7 separate regions of the Homo sapiens genome follow, and regions 1, 2, 3, 4, 6 and 7 are each linked to region 5. The links are contacts of gene promoters, found by promoter capture Hi-C in blood cells and fetal thymus (Javierre and others, 2016). All regions are on one chromosome and are shown on one strand. Each heading gives the region's core, a stretch centred on a gene start or on the middle of the fragment in contact. The rest is flanking DNA. Distances are from core to core; before and after follow the strand shown.

What was found. The method cuts DNA at HindIII sites, captures the fragments that hold promoters and counts their contacts. A CHiCAGO score of 5 or more calls a contact.
Region 1: a fragment that was not itself captured here is called in contact with the fragment with the promoter of ZCWPW1 in region 5 in 1 of 17 cell types (endothelial precursors); the score reaches 5.7 in endothelial precursors.
Region 2: a fragment that was not itself captured here is called in contact with the fragment with the promoter of ZCWPW1 in region 5 in 1 of 17 cell types (activated CD4 T cells); the score reaches 5.6 in activated CD4 T cells.
Region 3: a contact is called between a fragment that was not itself captured here and the fragment with the promoter of ZCWPW1 in region 5, in 1 of 17 cell types (total B cells). The highest score is 5.7, in total B cells.
Region 4: a contact is called between a fragment that was not itself captured here and the fragment with the promoter of ZCWPW1 in region 5, in 4 of 17 cell types (total B cells, naive B cells, non-activated CD4 T cells and 1 more). The highest score is 7.3, in total B cells.
Region 6: a fragment that was not itself captured here is called in contact with the fragment with the promoter of ZCWPW1 in region 5 in 2 of 17 cell types (total B cells and neutrophils); the score reaches 5.5 in total B cells.
Region 7: the fragment with the promoter of GAL3ST4 here is called in contact with the fragment with the promoter of ZCWPW1 in region 5 in 2 of 17 cell types (neutrophils and total B cells); the score reaches 5.4 in neutrophils.

The regions. Positions count from the first base shown.
Region 1 is chr7:100,832,808-100,835,632 of GRCh38, forward strand. It overlaps a transcript of SLC12A9 not described here. Among named protein-coding and RNA genes, the nearest start is that of EPHB4, 6.7 kb to the left of the region's middle. RefSeq lists an enhancer at 2,470-2,825. The HindIII fragment of the contact is 4,427 bases long and covers 1-2,825 here.
Region 2 is chr7:100,135,780-100,138,629 of GRCh38, forward strand. No RefSeq gene overlaps it. Among named protein-coding and RNA genes, the nearest start is that of MBLAC1, 10 kb to the left of the region's middle. RefSeq lists an enhancer at 2,053-2,112. The HindIII fragment of the contact is 6,909 bases long and covers 1-2,850 here.
Region 3 is chr7:100,108,622-100,111,570 of GRCh38, forward strand. AP4M1 (adaptor related protein complex 4 subunit mu 1) reads left to right here. Exons shown (of 15, transcript NM_004722.4): 15 at 1-418. TAF6 (TATA-box binding protein associated factor 6) reads right to left here. Exons shown (of 15, transcript NM_139315.3): 10 at 2,518-2,700; 11 at 1,579-1,653; 12 at 1,327-1,452. Among named protein-coding and RNA genes, the nearest start is that of AP4M1, 8.5 kb to the left of the region's middle. RefSeq lists a silencer at 2,005-2,232. The HindIII fragment of the contact is 8,380 bases long and covers 1-2,949 here.
Region 4 is chr7:100,083,293-100,086,340 of GRCh38, forward strand. No RefSeq gene overlaps it. Among named protein-coding and RNA genes, the nearest start is that of ZNF3, 3.1 kb to the left of the region's middle. The HindIII fragment of the contact is 4,834 bases long and covers 1-3,048 here.
Region 5 is chr7:100,427,372-100,430,195 of GRCh38, forward strand. It overlaps ZCWPW1 (zinc finger CW-type and PWWP domain containing 1), which reads right to left and starts at 1,332. Exons shown (of 18, transcript NM_001386010.1): 1 at 1,197-1,332. MEPCE (methylphosphate capping enzyme) reads left to right here and starts at 2,460. Exons shown (of 4, transcript NM_019606.6): 1 at 2,460-2,824. The coding sequence starts at 2,648. RefSeq lists silencers at 810-859, 2,680-2,824 and enhancers at 1,020-1,249, 2,270-2,409. The HindIII fragment of the contact is 9,299 bases long and covers 1-2,824 here.
Region 6 is chr7:100,017,816-100,020,945 of GRCh38, forward strand. All of the region lies in intron 1 of ZKSCAN1 (zinc finger with KRAB and SCAN domains 1), which reads left to right. Among named protein-coding and RNA genes, the nearest start is that of ZKSCAN1, 3.8 kb to the left of the region's middle. The HindIII fragment of the contact is 2,409 bases long and covers 133-2,541 here.
Region 7 is chr7:100,167,328-100,170,067 of GRCh38, forward strand. GAL3ST4 (galactose-3-O-sulfotransferase 4) reads right to left here and starts at 1,290. Exons shown (of 4, transcript NM_024637.5): 1 at 1,219-1,290. It overlaps GPC2 (glypican 2), which reads right to left. Exons shown (of 10, transcript NM_152742.3): 10 at 2,279-2,740. The HindIII fragment of the contact is 24,826 bases long and covers 1-2,740 here.

The sequences.
Region 1 (2,825 bases), core at 14-2,513, 410 kb after region 5:
CTTTGTCACCCATGCTGGAGTGCAGTGGCACGATCGAGGCTCACTGCAGCCTCGAACTCCCAGGCTCAAGCGATCCTCCTGCCTCAGCCTCCCAAGTAGCTGAGACTACAGGCGTGTGCCACCATGCCTAGCTAATATTTTTAGTGTTTGTACAGACAGGGTCTCACTATGTTGCGCAGGCTGGTCTTGAACTCTTGAGCTCAAGTGATTGTCTAGCCTCAGCCTCCCAAAGTCCTATGATTACAGGTGTGATCCACTGCACCTGGCCTGGCTAATTTATTTTATTTTATTTTTATTTTTTGTAGACATGAGGTCTTGCTATGTTGTCCAGGCTGGTCTCAAACTCCTACCTAATTCTAGCACTGTGTGAGGCCAAAAAAAAAGTTGAAAAAAAGGCTGGGCGCAGTGGCTCACACCTGTAATCTTAGCACTTTGGGAGGCCGAGGCGGGTGGATCACCTGAGGTTGGGAGTTCAAGACCTGCCTGGCCCGTCTCTACTAAAAATAGAAAAATTAGCCAGTTACAGTGGCACACGCCTGTAATCCCAGCTACTCAGGAGGCTGAGGCACGAGAATTGCTTGAATCCAGGAGGCAGAGGTTGCAGTGAGCCAAGATTGTACCACTGCACTCCAGGCTGGGTGACAGAGCGAGACTCTGTCTCAAAGCAAAGCAAAACAAAACAAAAAGCAAAAAAACAAAACAAAACAAAAAAAAACAGACAAGGTATGGTGGCTCATGCCTGTAATCCCAGCACTTTGGGAGGCCGAGGTGGGAGGATCACTTGAGCCCAGGAGTTCCAGGCCAGCCTGGGCAACATAGTGAGACCCCAGCTCTAAAGAAAAAATAGCTGGGTGTGGTGGCTCACACCTATAATCCCAGCACTTTGGGAGGCTGAGGTGGGCGGATCACGAAGTCAGGAGATCGAGACAATCCTGGCTAACATGGTGAAACCCCATCTCTACTAAAAATACAAAAATTAGCCGGGTGTGGTGGTGGGCACCTGTAGTCCCAGCTACTTGGGAGGCTGAGGCAGGAGAATGGCGGGAACCCGGGAGGCGGAGCTTGCAGTGAACCCAGATCACGCCACTGCACTCCAGCCTCAGGTACAGAGCGAGACTCTGTCTCAAAAAAAAAAAAAAAAAAAAAAAAAAAAAGAAAGAAGGAAAAATTGAAAATGGAGGACACCAAGTCATTTTCTACCTTCCAGGATTAGACAAGTCAGGGGTAGAAACAGCCACGGGGCCTCACCAGCATCCAGGTGGCTAAGCGCACAGCCTAACTTGTGGTGCACAGAGGACCCTACAGGATCACGCAGGAAGCACAGCCGATGCAGGTTTCAGGTGAGCTTTCTGCAGAAGGTGATGATGTCTGAATGAGTCCTAGAGATTGGCAGGAAAGGAGTTTAAAGGCAGAGTTGTGAGGTCGCCCCATTCAGAGAGCTGCCAGAGTTCACAACGCCAGGTCAGAGAGGGCAAGGACAGTGACCATGGGTGAACTGGAGAGGTGAGTGAGGGCCAGCCTCAGGTCATTACGGGTTTTTGCAGGACTGCTCTGGGGAGCTAGTGAAGGGTTTTAGGCCAAGAAGCAACATTGCATGGTTTGTAGAGAAAGATCCCACTTATACAATTTTGGAGAATAGACTGAAAGGAATGAAGACTGAAGGCGGGGAAACCAGTGCAGCATCCAAGTGACTATGTGGGTTTGAACCCAGATAGGCGTGTATGTGTGAGTGTGTGTGTGTTGGGGGGGATGGTGCACGCATGTATGGAGCCGGGGAGGATTCAGGAGATAAGGGTTGGGTGCGGTGGCTCACACCTAGAATCCCAGCATTTGGGAGGACGCAGCTGGCAGATCACTTGAGACCAGGAGTACAAGACCAGCCTGGGCAACATGATGAATCCTCATCTCTACAAAAATTAGCCAGGCGTGGTGGAGCACGCCTGTGGTCCCAGCTGTTCGGGGGGCTGAGGTGAGAGGATCACCCGAGCCCAGGAGGCAGAGGTTGTAGTGAGATTGCACCACTGCATTCCAGTCTGGGCAACAGAGCAAGACCCTGTCTCAAAAATAAAAATAATGGGCTGGGCACAGTGGCTCACGCCTGTAATCCCAACTATACAGGAGGCTGAGACAGGAGGATTGCTTGACCCCAGGAGGTGGAGGCTGCAGTGAGCCGCCGTGATCACACCACTGCACTGCAGCCTGGGCAACAGAGTGAGACCCCGTTTCAACAAAAAAAATTAAAATAAACAAACAAAAGAGTGTGATTGGCCGGGTGCAGTGGCTCACGCCTGTAATCCCAGCACTTTGGGAGGCCAAGGCAAGTGGATCACCTGAGGTCAGGAGTTTGAGACCGGCCTGGCCAACATGGTGAAACCCAGTCTCTACTAAAAACACAAAAATTAGCTGGGCATGGTGGTGCGTGCCTGTTATCCAGCTACTTGGGAGGCTGAGGCAGGAGAATCGCTTGAACCTGGGAGGTAGAGGTTGCAGTGAGCTGAGATGGTTCCACTGCACTCCAGCCGGGGCAACAAAGCGAGGCTCTGTCTTTAAAAAAAAAAAAAATGCCGGGCGCGGTCGCTCATGCCTGTAATCCCAGCACTTTGGGAAGCCGAGGTGGGCAGATCCCGAGGTCAAGAGATCGAGACCATCCTGGCCAACATGGTGAAACCCCGTCTCTACTAAAAATACAAAAATTAGCTGGGTGTGGTGGTACGCGCCTGTAGTCCCAGCTACTTGGGAGGCTGAGGCAGGAGAATCGCTTGAACCCGGGAGGCAGAGGTTGCAGTGAGCTGAGATTGCACCACTGCACTCCAGCCTGGGTGACA
Region 2 (2,850 bases), core at 60-2,559, 290 kb before region 5:
ACAAATAGAAGAAATACACTGCTCCCTAAACCTGAGTCTGTCCATGTGTCTGTTTCCCCTGCCTACATTTTCTTTCTGAAATTTAAATCCCCTTCCCCCATTGCAGGATACTCCTCAACCCTTGCTCCCCTCCCTCTGTAAGTCCCCAAAGCCTTGTGTCCTCTTTTCATAAAAAACTCACAGGGTAGCGTCCTGGTGATGTTTCACCTACTGCCAAAGTACAGCATCTGAAAATGTGTGGAAGATGTGGCTGGTCAAGCACCCAGAAGGAAGTTCAGTGGGGAGAAAGGCAGCTGCCTGAGGAAGGAGAGAACCACACTTCTTAGTAGAGTAAATGTAGAGTCTGGGAATGCAAGCGCAAAGAAGGAATAAGGCTGCCGGCAAGAGGAACCTAATGACTGTGGAACTTAATGGTCCAGACCCCCAGGAAAAGAATAATCACCTCCTCCTCCCACTCACCCACCAGAAAGCATTTTTGTTTGTTTGTTTGTTTGAGACGGAGTCTCATTGTGTCACCCAGACTGGAGTGTAGTGGCGCCATGCAACCTCCGCCGCCCGGGTTCAAGCGATTCTCCTGCCTCAGCCTCCTGAAGAGCTGGGATTATAGGCACACGCCACCACACCCAGCTAATTTTTGTGTTTTTGGTAGAGATGGGGTTTCATCATGTTGGCCAGGCTGGTCACAAACTCCTGACCTCAAGTGATCCGCCCGCCTTGGCCTCCCAAAGGTCGGATTTACAGGTGTGACCCACCACGCCCAGCCCAGAAAGCCTTTTCTACTGGATATCTGTAGAAGAAAGCAATGCCCTGGGGAGAGGGTTGCGTTTCTCTGCTTTCTAGAAAGAAACTGGACTTGAAGGCAGTACCTAAGTATATAAAGAAATTATGCAGGGATGGATGGTATATTGAGCTCTATGGCTTGAGCTCAGGAGTTTGAGACCAGCCTGGCAGCAAAGTGAGACCCTATTACTACAAAAAATACAAAAATTAGCTGGGCATGGGGGCGCACATCTGTAGTCTCAGTTACTCAGGAGGCTGAAGTGGGAGGATCACTTGAGCCCAGGAGTTGGAGGCTGCAGTAAGCTATGATTGCACCACTGCACTCCAGCCTAGGCAACAGAGCAAGACCCCATCTCAAAAAAATAAACAATTAAAAAATTAAAAAGTTGCTTCATGTGACCAATATGTTTTTTATTTTATTTATTTTTTTTCTGGGACGGAATCTCCCTCTGTCGCCCAGGCTGGAGTGCAGTGGCGCGATCTTGGCTCACTGCAGCCTCCACCTCCTGGGTTCAAGTGATTCTCCTGCCTCAGCCTCACAAATAGCTGGGACTAAGGCGCATGCCACCATGCCTGGCTAATTTTTTTTATTTTTAGTAGAGATAGGGTTTCACCATATTGGTCAGGCTGGTCTGGAACTCCCGCCCTCAGGTAATCCGCCTGCCTCGGCCTCCCAAAGTGCGGAGATTACAGGTGAGCCACTGCACCCGGCCACAGCAATATGTTTAGACTTACGTTTTCTAGCAGCAAGGCCAACACTAAAGGTTATAAGATGTTTTCTTGCTTTTTAAAATTTGTTCTTTCTTTTTTTTTTTTTAATTATTTTTTTTGAAATGGAGTCTCACTCTGTCGCCCAGGCTGGAGTGCAGTGGCGCAATCTCGGCTCATTGCAAGCTCCATCTCCCGGGTTCGCGCCATTCTCGCCTTGGCCTCTGGAGTAGCTGGGACTACAGGCGCCTGCCACCACACCCGGCTAATTTTTTGTATTTTTTAGTAGGAACGGGGTTTCACCGTGTTAGCCAGGATGGTCTCGATCTCCTGATCTTGTGATCCGCCCGCCTTGGCCTCCCAAAGTGCTGGGATTACAGGCGTGAGCCACCACGCCCGGCCCACTTTTTTTTTTTTTAAACACATATATTTACATATTTTTTTCTAGTGCCAAAAGTAAAATGTTTTATTTCCCTGTAAGGTAAGATACAAATTTGTCTGGAGAAAAAGTCCTGTTAACTAAAATATTAATACAAGGTACAAAGACGAAAGTAGAGTTGTTTGGAGAAAACTTGAGATAATAGAGTCCCTGAGGGTAAAGTAGGGTCATTGTTGCAAAAACTGAGGGAGGAAGGTTGTGCTCAAGGGTTTATAAGGTAGTGGTTCAGCATGCTGGTTTCTTTCCAGGTCAGTAGGTTCCATCATAAGCTGTGGTCACATTCAGCTACCTGTTCCATTGAGTGATCAAACAAGGTTGGGAGCTGAATACACACACACACAAAAATCTTCACCTGAAGCCATATCTAGGTGGTGACAGGCACCTGCTTTCCCCTAGGGTATATATTGCAAGTCACTGGCTCTTAGCCCTGCTGCTAGTCCAGGAAGTAACTTCGTGTGTCTAGAAACCTACACCTTCCTGAAGCGCGTTAGTCCCATCTGCCAGGAAATCAGCCTTCCAAAATGTACAAACCTTTTTTACAAAATAAAGCCTGAGCTTCAGCTGAGATGCTTTGGGAGAAATGAATTGTTCAGTTTTATCTGAAGCCATTTTTAGAAATTATAATGCACAAATCTGAGCCCGGTGTATGAAGTCCTTGGGGACCTTCTTGCTTTATTCTGCTGCCTCACCTCTTGCCTCATCCCATCCCCAACTCAAACATTTTTCTGTGTGATTTATGTTATACCTGGGCATCTCTGTTCCCCAGCCGTGAGTGCCCTTCTGACACTCTGTACCTGGCTGACACAAAGTCCTCTTTGAGAACGCAGCTTAGATATCTCCCCTTTGGGTGGGGCACGATGGTTCATGCCTGTAATCCCCAGCACTCTGGGAGGCTGAGGCGGGCAGATCAGTTGAGGCCCGGA
Region 3 (2,949 bases), core at 123-2,622, 320 kb before region 5:
AAGAACCTTGGGGATGGGGTAAAAAAGGACATTCCTTATCATCTCAGTGCCCCTGTTGAAGGCCAAATTATGCTGAACTATTAGTGTGTGTACAGAACACTGTGGGCTTTCTCATAAGAAAAGATGGGCACGGGGCCAGGTGCAGCATCTTAGGCCTGTATCCCAGCACTTGGGAGGCTGAGGTGGGTGGATCACTTGAGGTCAAGAGCCTGGCCAAAATGGAGAAACCTCATCTCCACTAAAAATACAAAAACTAGCCAGGCATGGTGGCACGCACCTGTAGTCCCAGCTACTGGGGAGGTTGAGGTACTAGAATGCTTGAACCCAGGTGGTGGAGGCTGCAGTGAGCAGAGGTTGCATCAGTGCACTCCCGCTTGGGTGACAGAGTGAGACTGTCTCAGAAAAAAAAAAAAAAGAATGGCTGGGTGTGGTGGTTCATGCCTGTAATCCCAGCACTTTGGGAGGCTGAGGCTGGCAGATCACCTGAGGTCAGGAGCTCAAGACCAGCCTGGCCAATATGGTGAAACCCCGTCTCTACTAAAAATACAAAAAATTAGCCAGGCATGGTGGCGCGTGCCTGTGGTCCCAGCTACTTGGGAGGCTGAGGCATGAGAATTGCTTGAACCTGAGAGGCAGAGGTTGCAGTGAGCCTGAGATCGCACCACTGCACTCCAGCCTGGGTTACAGAGTGAGACTCCATCTCAAAAAAAAAAAAAGAAAAGAAAAAGAAAACATGGGCACTAATGTGTGAATGAACTTGCTAAATACTGTGGCAGGATGGTTAATCAAGAGCGCATTTGCCTTGTACAGAGAAGACCACAGAGTAACAGGAGCATTGGGGAAGGATGGTCCAAATGCCACAGGCTGAGCGTGTTAAACCCTTCTTTTTTGGGGGGCGGTGGTCTCCCTCTGTAACCCAGGCTGGAGTGCAGTGGCACGATCATAGCTCTCTGTAGCCTTGAACTCCTGGGTTCAAGCAATCCTCCCACCTCGGCCTCCCTAGTAGCTGGGACCACAGACACGTCACCACTCCCGGCTTTTTGGTTTTTTTTTTTGCAGGTGGGATCTCGCTACGTTGTCCAGGCTGGCCTCATACTCCTAGGCTCCCAGAGTGCTGGGATTACAGGCAGAAGCCATCATGCCCAGCCCCCTTATTTCTTACTCAGTCTAATCTCAGTCTTTCCATCTGTAAAATAGTATCAGACTCTGCAATGTCCTCTGAAAACATGAGGCAAAGATGGGAGTAAGTGAATAAAATATGCCATATGCTTGCTAAACACTGCCTGTGTCTCAGTGGGCAGGTGTGGGGACAGGGGCTTCAGTCACCAGCAGGAGGCTCTGCACATGGTCTGCTCCAATCCGGTCAATGTTGCTCAGCACAGGGCCGTCCAGCACACTGCGGATCCGCTCCCCTTCCTGCTGCAGCCGGGGCAGAATCAGAGTCTTGATAACCTGTTAGAAGGGAAAAGGACAAGCAAAAGCCGGAGGGTCACCAGGGTCTCCCAGATGGGGGTACAGTGCCCTCTATAACCTCATGACTGTGTCCCCTCCCCCATTTCTTCCTCCCAGAGGCCTAACATCGTGTCCCAGCTCAGCCAAGCCTGCGATGGAGCCATAACGAGTCGTCCAGGGCGTCTTCTCGTCCACCCAGCTCTGTAAGGGGAAGGAAATAAACTAAGATGAAGGGGTCTGAAAGGATGATTGACAGGGACCTAAGTCTTTCATAGACACTTTCCTTGTAAATCATTAAGACATTACAATGAGGCCAGACGTGGTGGCTCACACCTGTAATCCCAGCACTTTGGGAGGCCGAGGCAGGCAGATCACCTGAGGTCAGGAGTTCCAGACCACCCTAGTCAACATGGTGAAACTCTGTCTCTACTAAAAATACAAAAATTAGCCAGTTGTGGCCAGGTGCAGTGGCTCATACCCGTAATCCCAGCACTTTGGGAGGCCAAGGCAGGCAGATCACCTGAGGTCGGGAGTTCTAGAGCAGCCTGACCAACATGGAGAAACCCCGTCTCTACTAAAAACACAAAATTAGCTGGGTGTGGCGGCACATGCCTGTAATCCCAGCTACTCGGGAGGCTGAGGCAGGAGAATCATTGGAACCCAGGAGGCGGAGGTTGTGGTAAGCCAAGATTGCACCATTGCACTCCAGCCTGGGCAAGAAGAGCGAAACTCCATCTCAAAAAAACAAAAACAAAAAAATTAGCCAGTTGTGGTGGCAGGTGCCTGTAATCCCAAGTACTCAAGAGTCTGAGGGAGAAGAATCGCTTGAACCCAGGAGGCAGAGGGTGCGGTCAGCAGAGATTGCACCACTGCACTCCAGCCTGGGCAAGAGCGAGACTCCATCTCAAAAAAAAAAAAAAAAGGTATTACAGACAAGCCTCAAGACCCTTAGACCCCCACAAGTTCCAGTCCCTCTTCCCTCTGCCCCCTTGTTTCCAGTGTGACTTCCCCCAACCAGAGGTGGCCAGTGATGAAGCAAATGACGCTCAAGTTTTCCTGGCTCACCTTGGTGAAGGTCTTGGTGATCCGGGACTGGATGTTGTTAGTGGTTGTGCTAAAATGCTTGCAGATCTGGGCCACCAGGCGGGCAGCAAAGTCTCGGAGTGCCCAGTGATTGTCCACATCTGGTCGCAGGCACAACTGTCTGCTCACGATGCAGGTCATCACAGCTGGAATCAGCTCATGGACCTAAGGGAGAAAGGGCGGGACAGCTGATTCTGGTTTTGTTTGTCTGCTTGAGATAAAGTCTTGCTCTGTCACCCAGGCTGGTGTGCAGGGACACAATCATGGCTAACTGCAGCATCAATCTCCCGGGCTCAAGCAATTCTCCCATCTCAGCCTCCCAGGTAGCTGGGGCCACAGGTGTGCACCACCATGCCTGGCTAATTTTGTTTTGGTTAATTTTTTTTGTAGAGATAGCAGTCTCACTACTGTCCT
Region 4 (3,048 bases), core at 169-2,668, 340 kb before region 5:
TGATACCATACCCGGCTAATTTGTGTGTATTTTTAGTAGAGACAAGGTTTCACCATGTTGGTCAGGCTTGTCTCGAACTCCTTACCTCAAATGATCTGCCGCCTCAATCTCCCAAAGTGCTGGGGTTACAGGTGTGAGCCACCGCGCCCGGCCTCCTGTGTGTTTCTTGTTTAAATTTTTTTTTTCTTTTGAGACGGGGGTCTTACTCTGTCACCCAGGCTGGAGTGCAGTGTTGTGATTTCGGCTCACTGCAACCTCCACCTCACAAGGTCAAGTGATCCTCCCACCTCAGCCTCCCAAGTAGCTGGAACCCCAGATGCATGCCACCACGCCCGGCTACTTTTTTGTAGAGACAGAGGGTTTTCACCATGTTGCCCAGACTGGTCTCAAACTCCTGAGCTCAAGGGATCCGCCCACCTCAGCCTCCCAAAGTGTTGGGATTACAGGTGTGAGCCACTGCACCCAGCCTTAAATCCTTTTAAACTAAGAAGATAAGAAATGAGGTATCACAATAGCCATCAATAGAAGGAAAGCACCTCATCATGTTCATGCTTTCCTCTGCCTTCTTCAACATATGAAGTCTTTTTTTTTTTTTTTTTTTTAGAGACAGGGTCTCACTCTGTCACCCAGGCTGGAGTGCAGTGGCGCGATCCTACCTCACTACAGCCTCAACCTCCTGGACTCAGGCGATCCTCCCTCCTCAGCTTCCAGAGTAGCTGGGACCACAGGCACGCACCATCACACCTGGCTTCCTTTCTGTTTTGTAGACTGGGTGCTGCCAGTTCATGAATCCCTAATAAAGCCAACTCAATCTTTAAAATTCAATTTGTTGGCCGGGTGCAGTGCTTCACGCCTGTAATCCCAGCACTTTGGGAGGCCGAGGCAGATAGATCACCTGAGGTCAGGAGTTTGAGACCAGCCTGGCCAACATGGTGAAACCCTGCCTCTACTAAAAATACAAAAACAAAAATTAGCCGGGAGTGGTGGCAGGCACCTGTAATCCCAGCTACTTGGGAGACTGAGGTGGCAGAATGGCTTGAACCTGGGAGGTGGAGGTTGCAGTGAGCCGAGATCGCACCACTGCACTCCAGCCTGGGAGCGACAGAGGGATACTCCATCTCTGTATATATATACGTATCCTGAAGTATGTTTATGGTCTGTTTCCTACAACTAGGGTATAAGCTCCATGAGGTCAGGACTTCGTTTTGTTTAGTGATGTACCTGCTGCCTGGTAGGCACTCCCAAATATTTGTTAAATTAATGACTGATAGGTGAATAGATAACCACTGACCCATACCAAAAAGGAGCACTTGCTTTTTGTTCGTTTTTGTTTTTGGGGTGGGGATATTTTTTTGGTTTGTTTGTTTGTTTGTTTTGAGACAAACAAATATGGCGAAACTCTATCTCTACAAAAAATACAAAATTTAGCCTGGCGTGGTGGCACGCATTTGCAGTCCCAGCTACTTGGGAGGCTGAGATGGGACAGTCACTTGAGTTCAGGAGGTTGAGGCTGCACTGAATTGTGATTGTAACACTGCACTCCAGCCTGGGTGACAGAGCAAGACTCTGTCTCAAAAACAACAATAACAAACACAAAACAAAACAAAAACAAAAAAAAAGAAACGTTTAGCAAACTTAGTTCTAAAATGCGCACAATCAACTGATTCAATGTCAAAGTCATCCTTAAATTCCACAATAATCTCTTGTTTTATGAGCTGTATAATTATCTGAACAATGTTTCAAAAGCACCTGAAACAACAAGGCAAAGGAGTTCTTTAATGTGTGAGAGAGCAGTGCAAACGATCAACTTTACTAACCCTAGAATAATTCTCATCTTGTTTTTATTTTAGCCTTCTATCTAGCTGAGAAGCACTATGCTCCTTGGAAGCTGCCTAGCATTCTTTAAAGAGAGACATTTTTCTGGCCAGGCACGGTGGCTCACACCTGTAATCCTAGCACTTTAGGAGGCCGAGGCAGGTGGATCGGTTGAGGCCAGGAGTCTGAGAACTGACTAGCCAACATGCTGAAAACCCATCTCTACTAAAAATACAAAAATGAGCCAGGTGTGGTGGCGCAAGCCTGATATCTCAGCTACTTGGGAGGCTGAGGCACAAGAATCACTTGAACCCAGGAGGTGGAGGTTGCAGTGAGCCAACATCTCACCAAAGAGATACATTTTTCTGACCTGGTTTTTCCAAATAGAAACAAGGCATTAGGTACTTTTCTTTGACAACCCTCTCAGTTTGTCCAGACCTGGTTGGTTTATCACTGGGGACTAGAATAAAATAAATTCCTTTTTAACTTCCCTTTGGCGAGAAGACCCCTCTTCCTGCAGGATTTCTCAAGTCCGTTCCATTGAGGGTTGCTGGCCCCTTCAAGTTTCCTTCATCCAGGCTCCTAAACGGAGAGATTGCATAATTCCCCTGTAAATTACAACTATCACCATATGGGGCTGTTCAGGGTCATAACACAGTTCTTCACCTGCTTTCTAGGAGCTTACACTTTGGGTGGGGATACAGACACCTAGAGCCAGAGTATGTCTGGCTCTTTCTAGGTGTCTGTACCCCTCTTTGTAGGGGTGGCAGGAGGAGCAGTGTGTGCAACTTGCTTAGGTTTAGGGGTAAGGAGGGGGTGGAGCAGCCTAGGCTAGCCAGATGTGAATTTTGGGTTTTTTTATGAGACAGAGTCTTGCTTTGTCAACCAGGCTGGAGTGTGGTGGTGTGATCTCGGCTCGCTGCAACCTCCGCCTCCCGGGTTCAAGTGATTCTCCTCCCTCAGCCTCTCGAGTAGCTGGGATTACAGGCATGCACCACCACGCCTGGCTAATTTTTGTATTTTTAGTAGAGATGGGGTTTCACCATCTCTACTGGTCGAGACCAGGCTGGTCTTGAACTCCTGACTTCAGGTGATTCACCCACCTCGGCCTCCCAAAGTGCTGAGATTACAAGCATAAGCCACTGTGCCTGGCCAGGAACTCAGTATTTAAGGGAAGAAAGCATGCAAGAGGAAAATAAGGAAGAAGGAGAGGCAGTGAGGCAAATGTTTTTT
Region 5 (2,824 bases), core at 82-2,581:
GGCCAATACGGTGAAACCCCGTCTCTACTAAAAATACAAAAAAATCAGCCGAGCACGGTGGCGCGTGCCTGTAATCCCAGCATTTTGGGAGGCCAAGGTGGGCGGATCACCTAAGGTCAGGAGTTCGAGACCAGCCTGGCCAACATGGAGAAACCCCGTCTCTACTAAAAATACAAAATTAGCCGGGCACAGTGGCGGGCGCCTGTAGTCCCAGCTCCTCGGGAGGCTGAGGCAGGGGAATCGCTTGAACCCAGGAGGTGGGGGTTGCAGTGAGCCGAGACTGCGCCACTGCACTCCAGCCTGGGCGACAGAGCGAGACAGTCTTTAAAAAAAAAAAAAAAAAAGCCCCAATTCCAAATCCACCTGCAATCCAAAGGGAAGAAGTTTTGCAGAGAAGTTCTTCCCATTTGTGGGGCGCTCCCATTTTTCCTCTCTTCCCTCACCCCTTATTCTCTCTCAGGGATAGCGGTTCAAGTCGGTGTCCCTGAGCCACACGTCCCCCTCTCTCTTCCCCGTCCCCTCCCTTCCTTCCTCCCACCATGAGGGAATCTCCCCTCCACCCCCACTCCTGCCGAGGCCCCGTGATCCTTATTCTCACTCATATCGTTGGTGCCCGCCAGGAGACTGGGCTATTTTTTTTTTGTCTGTTTCTTGGGGGCGACAGATTCTGAGGAAAAAGGGCGAAGGGCTGGTTGTCGCCCTGAGAAAGTTTCTCCTCAGGCAACGGGTGCCAGGACTGGCAGCGCCTAGCACCTTCACCTACAACCAGAAACTAGCTGGCTACCTTCAGGAGCAAGGAGGACCTAAAGGCGATGGGCGGAACCAGCTGCCGCAGCGACTCCGCAAGCCCCTCACACCTCAACCCAGGTTTCCCGCCACCAAGAAAAGGCACGAGGACGCCCTGAGCACTAGCTCCACCCGAGGGCGGTGCGCTCGCGGGGCCGAGGCGCATGCGCAACTGGAAACAGCGTCTGCGTTTCCGCAGCTGAGGTAAATCCGCCATCTTCCACCCGAACGTCCCGGGAAAACTACAAATCCCAGAATCCTCTTTGGTGTCACATATTTTTAGGCGGCGGCCGCGGCGCCTGATTGTTCCTGAAGCACATCTACTAACTTTTCTGTTTCAGACTGCCTTTTCCTCCCTCTTTCCGTTCTCTAATTCCTCCTCTTCCTGCTGGTCTCCTTCACGCCCTCACCTTAGGATTTTGAGACTCTCCTGGACCCCACTGTCACCCCTGCCGCCCTGTCCTCGGCCCAGCACTCCGCTGGCAGGGAGACCGGGCGGCGCATCTCCCCGGGAAAACGGCGTAGACTCGCTTCTTCCTCATTGGCAGAAGCTGGGGGGGCCCAGCGCGGACCGAACCCCCGTCCCCGCCCACACTCGCTGGTATATAAGTCGGCGTGGCGCCGCGGTGGGTGTTGAGAGGCCCGCGAACTGACGGGCCAGTGAGCGGGCGTCGGGAGTGGGCGGATGCGTTGGGGTTCGGGTCGTGGGTGTTGAGGCGGAGAGGAAGGCGTGGTGTGGCGTCTCCAGGTGATTGCGATTGGGGGAAGGTAGAGGAGCCAGAGAACGACTCAGCCGTTTCGGGGGAAGAGGAAGTTGGACAACATCGGCTGTTTTAGTGCTTTTTATTTTTCCCCAATTCAGCAGAGAATATTTTCAAGGGGGGTGAGTTATAATGACCTATCGCGTTTTACTGAGCCCAGTTCCACTCCCGCCCTTCCTTGGCTTTGTAGGGTCTCCCCTCCGCTCCCTCGGAAGCGCTTCTAAGAAGGTGGGCAGAGGGGGGGAGGTTTGCTACCAACAGCTCATGAATAATTCATGAGCCCCGCCCTTCGTCAGGAAGCCCCGCCCCTCCGGATCGCGCTGACGCACGCTGCGTTTACCAAACTTAAGGAAGCGACGTCACAGGCCCAACCCCTAAGACGGGGGGCGGGGCGCCAGTTTCAGCACGTGCTGCCTCTACCCGCGCAAGCCCAAAAGGGTGTGCGCAGGCGCTGCCCACTAGGGGGGAGGAAGGAGGCGGGGTGGGGAGGTTGTTGGATTTAGAGCCGGGCGGAGACCGCTGAGACTCATTCCTCAGGAACAAGGGTCGGGTGTCAAGGAGACCTTTTCACACCAGCTCCCGTCCCCCGCCTACGGTGGGTGGGATCGCGCGGCAGAGACAAAGGAGATCAGTAGGGCCGGACATAGCTGCGCAGGGAAGTAGGGTGTCAGTTTGGGGTGGTGGGCTTTTGCGGGGGCTGTGGGGGGGTTATATTTAAACTCCCAGAGCCGTTAAGTTGGTTCGTAGTCTGATGCGCGCGCAACCAGGGTGGTGGCGGAGTGCGCATGCGTGGTTCCCGGGCGAAGGGAACGCGCGCTCACCGTGCGCGCTCGCGGCCGGGTGGTAGTGGCGGAGGAGAAAGGGGTCGGCGCACGCGCGGTTGAGTCCTCGAGTAGTTCGGGTCTCGCGGGCCTCTTGTTTTGGTCTCGCGGGCTAGTAGGGCGCACTTGGCGGGGAGGCGCTTGGGCGCGAGACTAGGCGTGAAGAGCAGAGCTGCGCGCGCACTCGGGAAAGGGGGGAAGGGAGCAGGGTCCAGGCAGGGGGGGTTAGGCCCCCTGATCCCCCTCGTTACCCCGACTGGCACGGAATAAGGGGAGGAAATGATCGAGATGGCGGCGGAGAAGGAGCCGTTTCTGGTGCCGGCCCCGCCGCCGCCGCTCAAAGATGAGTCGGGCGGAGGGGGCGGCCCCACGGTGCCACCGCACCAAGAGGCCGCCTCTGGGGAGCTCCGCGGCGGGACGGAGCGTGGTCCGGGTCGTTGCGCGCCATCTGCGGGG
Region 6 (3,130 bases), core at 87-2,586, 410 kb before region 5:
AGGGATGTGCCACTTACTTGTGGGAGACTAGAATTCAGTTATTGCCTGTGCAGCTTTCACTATTACAGGAGTTGTCCCATTGCTTAATCTTCTAAGCAGGCTGAAAATTGGAATGTACAGTTACATCTTTTAAGCTTATTGAAAAAAATTAAGACATTTCTGTAGTGCCTACTAAATGCCAGGCACTATTTTAAGTGCTTTATATCTATTACCTCATTTAATCCTCACGGCAACTCTATGGGACAAATGCTGATTTTTATTCCCATTATACAGATGAGGAAACTGACGCATAGAGAGGTTAACTTGTTGACTTGCCTAAGGCCGTCAACTAGTAAGGGGTGGAGCAGCTTTAATGCTAACCTGAAACTCATCCAACTAGTCCATGGAACAAATTTGAGTGCAACATTGAATGTAGAATGATCGGGCTTTTAAAAAATAGTAACGTTGTCAATTCAGTCAAGTGTATTTTTGAAACTGAGGCTTGCAAGGAATCATGCTAAGTGGTCTAAGGAGTACAAAGAGGACTGCTCTTAATAATCTAGTTGAGGAAGAAGGCAAGAAAAATTACAGAGAAAGAAACATCATGAGAAATTTTTTTTTTTTTTTTGAGACAGAGTCTCGCTCTGTCACCCAGGCTGGAGTGCAGTGGCGCAATCGCAGCCTCCCGGGTTCACGCCATTCTCCTGCCTCAGCCTCCCAAGTAGCTGGGACTACAGGCGCCCGCCACCACACCCAGCTAATTTTTTATATTTTTAGTAGAGACGGGGTTTCATCGTGTTACCAGGATGGTCTCGATCTCCTCACCTCGTGATCCGCCCACCTCAGCCTCCCAAAGTGCTAGGATTACAGGCATGAGCCACTGCGCCCGGCGCATCATGAGAAATTACCTAGCAAATGTTTGGTGAAGAGTATTAGGGCCTTTAGAGACAGAAGAGTATGTGCTCAGATCATCTGGGAAACCTCAAATAAAACCCAGCCTTTCCACTGCTGTGATGGCTTTTCCCTGCACCCCAGAGTAGGAGCAGAGAGATACTGAAGGTGAGGAGGAGGATCTGTCCCAGTTGTGGGCAGAGGGAATGTGCCCATGTCTGTGTCTATTTCCCCCTGGACTCATTTCCTCCTTAGAGTCGCATCTTCGCACTGACCCAAGAAGTGTCCTGCTCAATAGCTAAGGCAGGATAAAACTTTCACAAAAGTAGGGATTTCTGGTGGCTGGGCTCGCTATCACACTAGTTCTGCTCAGTTACCATGTTTGAAGATCCCACCTGGTTATGTTGTAGACAGTCCCCACTTGAATCTTCTGCTGTGTCTCCTCCCTTTCCCAGGAAGGGCTTCAGTCACATAGTGACCCTCCAGTGAAAACTGGGTGGTAGATAAGGCCCGTTCCTGAGTGATTTTTTTTTCTCTTTGAGAAGGAGTCTCTCTCTGTCACCCAGGCTGGAGTGCAGTGGCGCGTTCTCAGCTCACTGCACCCTCCACCTCCCAGGTTCAAGTGATTCTCCTGCCTCAGCCTCCCGAGTAGCTGAGATTACAGGTATGTGCCACACATCCAGCTAATTTTTGTATTTTTAGTAGAGACGGGGTTTCGTCATGTTGGCCAGGCTGGTCCCGAGCTCCTCAGCTCAGGTGATCGACCCTCCTTGGCATCCCAAAGTGCTGGGATTACAGGCGTGAGCTACCGTGCCTGGCCCTGATTGATTCTTCATTGTCACGTTCATAGGCCTTCATTTTAGGATCTGTATACCCCACATGTCAGGTACAAGATAAATTTTGTATAATGGTTAAAGAGTTTACATTGGGGAATCACTTTTATTTCAAATTCTGCCTCTACCATATACTTGCTGTGTGACCTTGAGTAAGTTATTTAATGGCAGTATATCTCAGTTCTTCTTTTGTTTTTTTTTGAGATGGAGTCTCACTCTGTTGCCCAGACTGGAGTGCAGTGGTGTAATCTCAGCTCACTGCAGCCTCCGCCTCCCAGGTTGAAGCAACTCTCCTGCCTCAGCCTCCCGAGTAGCTGGGACTACAGGCATTGCACCACCACACCTGGCTAATTTTTGTATTTTTAGTAGAGATGGGGTTTTGCCATGTTATCCAGGCTGGTCTCGAACTCCTGACCTCAGGTTATCTATCTGCCTTGGCCTCCCAAAGTGCTGGGATGACAGGCATGAGCCGCTGCGCTCAGCCTCTCAGTTCTTTATACAGTGAGATGATAAGTGTAGCTACCTGCTAAGATTGTTATGTGGTCAAGTGAAAATGCTTAAATACCCGGTACCTAGAAAGCACTCAGTAAACATTGGCTCTTACTGTTATAGTTATGAGAGGGTTCTTGAACAGTGATAAGAGGCAAGTCGCGTTTTAGCTAGCTTTAAAGGTTAAGTAGGATTTGAAAAGGCAGAGAGGACTGCGGGGGGAAGTCCCAGGCATGGAGTGTGATGTGAGGAAAGGATGGCAGTCAAAATACAAGGCATATATAGGAAATACTGATGAGAGGGCTTTTGTTGCATAGGGAAGGTTTATGGGGGGATTGATGGGAAAAGAAGCTTGAGGGAAAATTGGGACCAGGCACTGGAAAGTATTAACTGCAAGGCTGTAGAGTTTTAGAAAGAATAATCTGAAAGGTGGATTGTGGGAGAGAAGGGAGAAAATGAAGGCAGGGAACCAAAGAAAGGAAGCTGGACTTCATGGAACTAGATTAAAAAAAATAAGTATGGCCTGTAATCCCAGCTACTCAGGAGGCTGAGGCAGGAGAATTACTTGAACCCGAGAGGCGGATGTTGCAGTGAGCTGAGATCATGCCATTGCACTCCAGCCTGGGCGATAGAGCAAGACTCCGTTTCAATATATATGTATATATAATTTTTGTGCTGTTATATGTACATGATCCCTTTTTCACCAAAATTAAGAATATGTTTAGTGAGAGCCATAAAACTAAAAATGCTTTTGCTAGTTTAAAACTCGGTTTAACCCATCATGATAAAGCAGTTTAATGGTCTGTTTCTAAAACTTCAATTTGATGCTTAGTTTTGATGGCTGTAGAGGTGAAAAGAATAAATTCAGAAAGATTTGTAGCTTCAGATGGAAGAATCACAGTGTCAGTTCTGCTTAGTAACTTGTGATTGATCCAACC
Region 7 (2,740 bases), core at 40-2,539, 260 kb before region 5:
GGCAGAGGCAGCCTTCTCTCCTGCTGCAGCTGAGACCTCCTTCAGGGAAGGGGAGTGGCTGGGGATGTTGTCTATACCCAGACTCTCCTAGGTGGCCCCACAACTACTGTCTCTGCTCTATCACTTTCTTATCTCCAGTTCCTCCCGCTCCCCACCTACAGTTGTCCCTGAGCCTTGGGGATTTATAAGGGAAGGAGAGAAAAAGCCCCAGCTCGTGAATGAAACAGCCAGCAAGAGAGAGAGAGATCAGATCAATCAGCTCATTAACACAGTCAGGTCAGACCATGGTCGGGAACCTGGTTTCCTCCAGAGCCCCTCTGGCTGTCACAGATGGGGATAAAGAGCCCTATCCCAGGACCAGGAAGGGAAGCCATACAGTGGGAATGAGGATCAGACAGGACACAGGTGTATGAACCCAGGCAGGAGGAAGGGAGGTTGGACTTCCAGGAGTGGCATTGCAATGGGTAAGAGCCATTGGGTTATAAATTCCCGCGCCTCTTTTTTCTCTGTCTCAGCACGGGGCAGACCCCCATGTATGACAGGGGCTGGGGGAGACGTGTGGCTACTTATAAAGCCCAGATCCCTGGACTTACCCACCATTCCACTTTCCAACCTTATCAGTGCACCCGGAGGAGACTGAAAGGGTGGGGCTGGAGAGGGAGACAGAAAGAGAGAGAGACACACACACACACACACACACACACAGAGAAACAGAGAGAGAGAGACAGAGGGACAGAGAGACTATGACACAAAGATAAGGAGAAAGGCGCAAACACTAACTGCAGAGTTCCTTCTGAAGCCCGAGCTTCCTAATCAACCGGGAGTCCAGCCCCGCCCCTTCAGATTACAACTCGCGATCAGGGACCACGGCCCCTCCAACAAGCCCCGACAGCTCCCTGCTCCGATGAGCCAGGGGTAACCCCAAGCAGAGAGAAGCCACACTTTTACTCCCGGAGACCTGCCCTCTCTGGCATCACTCCCCAATTCCCTCCCTGATCACAGCCCCTGGGGTCTAGCCGCGTCTCCCCTATCCAGAGTTCTTCATTTCCTTCCATCCATCTCTCCCTTCCCATGATTGGAGATCCCAGCCCTCTGTCCCCTCCAGCTTTGGTGACTGCCCAGTTGCCCCCGCTGGGGTTCCATGAACCCCTCATGTCTCCTCCCATAAATTAGAGGGTCCCTCCACTGGTCCTATCCTTGGTTTCACTTCCCACTCACCAGGCCACAAGGGGAGCAGCAAGGGAAATCGGGCCGGGCCCTCCCGCCCATCCCAGCCACCGCCCGACTCTTGGCTCAGCTCAACTTTCCCCAAGAACTTTCTCAGCGCCCAGGCTCCTCCCTCCTCCCTTTGTGCCGCCAGCCCCAGCAGCTGCTGCAGCTTTGATCGCGGTTCTAGGTCTCTCCCTCGCTGCATCTTCCCCTCTTCGGCAGGGCACCCAGACTCCTCTTGGAAGACACCACTTCCGCCCCCGCTTTCACACTTGGGAATCAATCCTACCATTTTCTCTTGGCTTGCCGCAGAACAAAAGATTCATTCAGGCGGTGGAAAGAAAGAAGGAAGGAAGGAGAAAGTGATATTTGAAAGCAGACATTGTCAAGGACGTGGCAAGGTAGCCAGAGACTGACACTCAGAGAACAAGGCCTCCCATCCTGAAGGCAGGGGGCAGTGGTGTGGTCACCTTAATAATGCTTCGTGGCCGGGTGCGGTGGCTCACGCCTGTAATCCCAGCACTTTGGGAGGCTAAGGCTGGTGGATCGCTTGAGGTCAGGAGTTTGCGATCAGCCTGGCCAACATGGTGAAACCCCGTCTCTACTAAAAATACAAAAATTAGCTGACTGTGGTGGCAGGCGCCTGTAATCCCAGCTACTCAGGAGGCTGAGGCAGGAGAATCATTTGAACTGGGGAGGCGGAGGTTGCAGTGAACTGAGATCGCGCCATTGCACTCCAGCCTCGCGACAACAGCGAGACTCTATCTCAAAAAAAAAAAAAAAAAAGCCTCATGTTCAAAGAGCATTTTGCAGGTGACAAGGTGCTTTTTCACACAGATTCTATTTGGTCCCCACAATTCTCCCTGTTGTACAAACGAAGATGCTCAGAGGCCCAGAGGGTGGGCAATTTGGAGATCAGAGGTTATTGTCTAGGCCCGCCTCCTGGGGGACAGGTGCCAAGGGAAGTGAAAAGCCGGCAGAAAATGAGCCAGTCACAGAGGCTCTGAGACCTCTGCTAGGAGCCAGGGCTCAGGCACTGATGGTGACAGCACAGAAGCCACACATGGGGTCCAATACATTACCATTTATTTGCAGAATAAACATGGACTCAAACACTGAAACATGGAGTTTGTGAAGGATGTGGGTGGCAGAGGTCACGAGATGAGCACCCCCCCACCTTGTTTTTTTTAAAATTTGGTTTAAGAAATTGATACTGAAAAAACTCAACAGAACCCAGGCCCATGAAGTCTCACATCCTACTCAAGCACCCTCAGTCCCCTGCCCTGCATCCAGCTGGTCCATTTCTGAGACCAGATGCCCCCACCCCTCCCCACTTCCAACTTCCTTCAAACCCCTTCCCCAGCTGCAACTCTAAACTCCTCATTTTCTCTGTTGGGGCTGATCACCAGCCCCAGCCTTAGAGGGCTAGAGACTATACCTTCTAAGGAAACCACACTCCCTCCTAAATAAATACCCCCAGGCCCCCCTCCCATTACCAAATGAAAAAATAAATATTGTGAACACCCACCCA